Linked DNA regions of Homo sapiens: region 1 is linked to region 2. Evidence: promoter capture Hi-C in human tissues and cell types (Jung and others, 2019). All regions are on one chromosome and are shown on one strand. The core of a region is centred on a gene start or on the middle of the fragment in contact, and the rest is flanking DNA. Distances in the headings are between cores, read along the strand shown. Region 1 overlaps LOC124904625 (a long non-coding RNA gene). Region 2 holds the start of MBD3L3 (methyl-CpG binding domain protein 3 like 3).

Evidence for each region. The method cuts DNA at HindIII sites, captures the fragments that hold promoters and counts their contacts. A contact is called where the count stands out against the background at its distance.
Region 1: a fragment that was not itself captured here is called in contact with the fragment with the promoter of MBD3L3 in region 2 in 2 of the 25 tissues and cell types used here (hippocampus and neural progenitor cells).

Annotation. Positions count from the first base shown.
Region 1 is chr19:7,094,204-7,096,903 of GRCh38, reverse strand. All of the region lies in intron 1 of LOC124904625 (a long non-coding RNA gene), which reads left to right. Among named protein-coding and RNA genes, the nearest start is that of ZNF557, 26 kb to the right of the region's middle. The HindIII fragment of the contact is 4,002 bases long and covers 1-2,700 here.
Region 2 is chr19:7,057,281-7,059,980 of GRCh38, reverse strand. MBD3L3 (methyl-CpG binding domain protein 3 like 3) reads left to right here and starts at 1,305. Exons shown (of 2, transcript NM_001164425.4): 1 at 1,305-1,420. The coding sequence starts at 1,376. The HindIII fragment of the contact is 21,543 bases long and covers 1-2,700 here.

The DNA.
Region 1 (2,700 bases), core at 146-2,645, 37 kb before region 2:
CAGCCTGGAGTTCCTTTCTTGAGTGTGTAGAGGATTGAGGGTTGATTGGTTTTTGGAGTTTCCATCATTAATGTAGGAGCGATACGGGGAATCACTTGGCGAAGCTTTCATTGTCTCTGATGTTGGAGGTAACTGGAGGGCCAGTGCCTGGGGCTTCCATTTTTTTCTAGTGTTGAAGGGTCAAGAGCATTTATCAGATAGAGGCCTTACTGTGTATTGTTTGGGGAGAGGATGGAGGGATTATTGGATGGGGTTCCACTTATCTCTAGTTGGGGAGGGTCATATTCTGGGTCTCCGCTTGCCTGTACTGTTGGTATAGACTGGGTAGGCCATTGGGCTTGGAGTCCCCATTCTTTAGTGTTGAGGGGCATCTGAAGGGGTCATTTCAGGGACTTCTGTTATAGTTTTGGACGTGACTGAGGGGTGCTTGCTGGAGTAGTTTCGCGATGACGGAGGTCTTCATGTTTGGACTCCATCTTTTGTGTTTGTAAGTGATTGAGGGGTGGAGATCTGGCATCCTGTTGCCTCTTGTTTTGAGGGTGACTGGTGGTTACCTGCTAGGGCTTCTGTCAGCTCTACTGCTGTATGCAGATTGTGAGAATCACTTGCTGGGGCTTCCATAATCTCTAGTCTTAGGGGGACTGGGAAATGGCTTGCCATGCTTTCTATTATCTCTAGTTTTAAGGGACCAGTTCAATGTGATTTAAAACTCTTTTTATTTGAAAAAAAAAAAAAATTAGGGCTGGGCACGTTGGCTCACGCCTATAATCCTAACACTTTTGGGAGGCCAAGGCAGATGGATCACTTGAGGTCAGGAGTTTGAGACCAGCCTGGTCACCATGGCGAAACCCCATCTCTACTAAAAATACAAAAATTAGCTGGGCGTGGTGGTGCACACCTGTAGTTGCAGCTACTTGGAGGCTGAGGCAAGAGAATTGCTTGAACCCAGGAGGCGGAAGTTGCAGTGAGGTGAGTGTGGGCAACAGAGTGAGACTCCGTCTGAAAAAAAAAAAAAGATTTAGACGTATAAAAGTGTTAAAACTATACAGGCTTGATTTATACAGTCAATATTTATTTGTATTTGCTCACATTTTATCTTTCCTGATTATCCTTATATATTTCTGGAATTGCTTCCACATGGAATAATTTTCCTCCAGCCCCAAAACTTTCCTTCTTTCTTTCCTTCTCCTTCCTTCCTTCCTTCCTTCCCTCCCTCCCTCCTTCCTTCTTTTTTTTTTTTGAGACAGAGTCTCGCTCCATCGCCCAGGCTGGAAAGCAACGGTGCGATCTCAGCTCACTGCAACCTCCACCTCCTGGGTTCAAGCAATTCTCCTGCCTCAGCCTCCCAAGTAGCTGGGATTATAGGCGACCGCCACTACGCCCAGCTAATTTTTTTTTTTTTTTGTAGTTTTAGCAGAGATGGGGTTTTGCCATGTTGGCCAGCCTTGTCTCGAACTCCTGACCTCAGGTGATCCACCTGCCTCAGCCTCCCAAAATGCTGGGATTACAGGTGTGAGCCACCGTGTCTGGCCCAAAACTTTCTTTAGTGTTTCTTGAAGTGCAGTTCTGCTGGTGATGAACTATGTTGTTGCTGAAACACCAGGGGTTCAATCTAGGTCCTGCTGCTCACCACTGCACAGAAAGCCTATCGCTGAGACAATGAGTATTGCCAAGGAAGAAGGCTTTAATCAGCTGCTGCAGCTGAGGAGGTGGGAGAACAATCTCAAATCCATCTCCCTGACCAACTAAAATTTGAGGTTTATATAGCAGGGAAGAAATGTTACCATGTGTGGGAATACAGGAATTAGGGAAGGGTAAGGAAGAGGAGTTGGTCAACAGGAAGCAGGTGGTCAGTTAGGCAATCATGATGGGTGATGGGTCTGATGTCTCACTGTACAAATGCAGTATTCTGGTGCGTTTCAGCTCCTAGATACTATCTGGGAGGCCTGATGGTTGGTTTCCTGAGAAAGGAACTCAGATAAGATAAATGTAACTTTCTTAAGTTTTAAGATTGGGAAGATCAATTTGTTTGTTTATTCAAGGAAACCATAAACATCAGCAATATGGGAAAATTGGGCCAGTTTCACTTTCAGGTATTTAAAAGAAAAATCTATTGGATTTTGGATATCAATTCTTGTCCTTCACTTGGCGCTAAGTTCATGTCCCTACATAAGATACAAAGGGGGCCGGGCGCGGTGGCTCCCGCCTGTAATCCTAGCACTTTGGGAGGCCGAGGTGGGCGGATCACAAGGTCAAGAATTCAAGACCAGCCTGGCCAACATAGTGAAACCCCATCTCTACTAAAAATACAAAAATTAGCCGGGTGTGCTGGCGTGTGCCTGTAGTCCCAGCTACTCGGGAGGCTGAAGCAGGAGAGTCGCTTGAATCCAGGAGGCGGAGGTTGTAGTGAGCAGAGATGGCACCATTGCACTCCAGCCTGTGTGACAGAGTGAGACTCCATCTCAAAAAAAAAAAAAAAAAAAAAGAGATACAAAGGAAGCTACTGTTGGGATAATGTCATTTGGTCGTATTCCCATCAGAAACCTTAAGCTTTGGCCACAACCAGGACTCTTCATATAAAATGGTGATGGTGGTGGTGGGGAACCAGGGAAAAAGCGGAAAAAATTAAAGATTTTTTAAAAAACCCAAACCCAAAGCATAGCTGTCTTCTATTCCTGCTTTGGGACCTGGTCTTCAGGA
Region 2 (2,700 bases), core at 56-2,555:
TGTAAAGGAAAACAATTAGTTGTTAGCAGCATTGAATTAGAAGAAAAATACTAGAATGAATTCTCAAGTCCACAGGGAAATAATCCCAGATTGAATGCTAGAAATGCAGAAAGGAACAAAGATGAATGCACAAGATAAGCTGTAGGTAAATATTAGTGCATATTGCTTTATGAAGCAATACTAGAAATGTCTCCTGGAGAGTAAAATATGTGTAGAATTAATATGCATGAGAATGGTAATACAAAAGTCAGAAACAGCTAAAAAGAGAATTAAAAGTGTTCTAAAGTATTAGCATTTTGTGGGAGGGGTTAAAGTAATTAATTGTATCAGAGTATATGATTTAATTATTAGCATAACTACACAGATTTGTATGGCTGTAACTAGCAAGTTCATGGAGATAACAATAAAATAATAAACATATTTAATTCAAAGTCAGTCAAGTAAAGGCAAAAGGAACGTGAGTCAGTTAAGTCAAAACCTAGGAAAAATGAGATGATTGAAACAATTTCAAATTTACTGGTAATTATATTAAATGTAAATGCACGAAATAGAACTTTTTTTTTTTTTTTTTTTTGAGATGGAGTCTCACTCTGTCGCCCATGCTGAGCTGCAGTGGTGCGATCTCGGCTCACCGCAACCTCTCCCTCCCAGGTTCAAGCGATTCTCCTGCCTCAGCCTCCCGAGTAGCTGGGATTACAGGTGCATGCCACCACACCAGGGTAAGTTTTGTATTTTTAGTAGAAATGGGGTTTCACCATGTTGGCCAGGCTGGTCTCGAACTCTTGACCTCAGGTGATCTACCTGCCTTGGTCTCCCAAAGTGCTGGGATTATAGGCGTAAGCCACCTCTCCCGGCCAAAGTAGTAATTTCTTTGCAACAACTGTGTGATATATTCTATAGGATTGTGAATAAAAGTTTTGGGCTTTCTTTTCTTAAAGAACATTTAAATGGTCTTTAGTTGTTGTTATTAAATCAAATATTACGTGAACATTTATGTACATAGACAATTCCATTCCTATTTCTATAGAAAGTATTCAAAGATGTTTGGAAAACTGGGAGAAAAAGGGAAACATATCTAAAATGCTGATATTAACTGTAAATACCACCCCGCCACACACACATACACACGTATTCAATTCTTTCTCTACTAACACTCTGTGTAGGTAACACCACATTGGTTTCTGTATAAAGATTTAGAAATGCCTCAAATCCAATGGGCGGAGACAGGGTGTTCCCTGTGGATTATCCACTGATTGCATTATCACTCGCTTTCTCTATAAAAAGGGGAACCAGATGCAGAAGTCACTGCATTTTCCGGCAAGCCAAGGGTTGTCTGCATCTCAAGAGTGGGGTCAGCAAGAGAAACTCTACGGCTATGGGAGAGCCTGCGTTCACCTCTTTTCCGAGCCCACCTGTTCTGGTGAGTACGGGATATTTATTGATTACAGGAATGTCCATATGTGTCCTTTTTCCTTCTGTAAGACAGCTTTACAGTTAGCAGTGGGTTGTTCTTAAAACTGGATGTTGTGGAAAGTTATACCTCAGGTGGTAATATCTGTTGAATAATGTTCAAAGTATTCTCATTTTTGCCCATGAAACTGTATGGGGATAATAGCTTTGAATTTTTTTTTAAAAATCCAACATCACTAGGAAAGGGAAGAAGTATGATTTGGCCTTGCAGTCTTCAAATTGTCTCCTTCTCTGGAAAGCTCCTGAACCAGAAATTGCTTGGTCCGTTTTTTTAAAAAAACAAAAAACAAAAAAAATTAGTTCTCTGGTAAAATTTCATGATGAGTTGCTTATTCCCTAAACTCACTGTCACGATTCATTGTAGTGAATTTCTTTTCTGTTTCTCTGTTTCTCCTCCTTCCATCCCTCTCTGTCACTCCCTTCTTCTTCATCATGGAACTTACTTATATCTGATATTCCACCAGAAATTTGTTTTTAGTGCGTTTATTATGTCTTCCTTCTCACCAAGATGAAAATCAACAGAGTGGTGATTTATGAAGTTTACTTCTGGATCAGGGGTTCTACTGCACAGCTTGGCACATCATAAGTGCCCCGTAACTAAGGGGACTAAATAATTTTCCCTCCAAAGGGGAACATCTTGGGTCAGTATTAATCTTTATGCCAGGGGTACTGTAAGGGGTAGTATTAATCTTTATGCCAGGACAACGAAAAATGAAATGAGGAGGACAGAAACAAAGGCTTTAAAATGGAAAGTGCACTGATGAGGTTTGTGGGGGAAACAGCTTTATGAGACTAGAGTCTTCCAATTGAGTTAGAGCAAGAAAGGACGTCAAATCTTAGGAGGCGCTTGATCATCTTTCTCAGTATGTCATCAAAAGATTCTCTCATGGTATACCTCTAGTTAATTGAGCTTATTAGAAACAGAAAGCAACATGGTGTTTCTGAGGTTTTTCTTCATGAGCAGGAGGTGTTCAGGTGAAGGTGGGATCTGGGTGTGGCAGTGAGTATTTAAGGTGGCGAGTGCAGGATTTCTTTGGAAACCAGAGAGTCAAGGAGCTATGAAAATGACGTTGTGTCCTGAAGCACAGCAGAAAGAGATACAGAGAAGCGTGAGGTCTTGGTGAACAGGGAAGTCTGGGATCCCGGTGTCCTGTTGGGGATGGGTTAGGAGGCACCACCAGCATCTGTGTAGCTGACAGTGGCAGGGAAGAGAAGAGAGGGGTGTCCTCT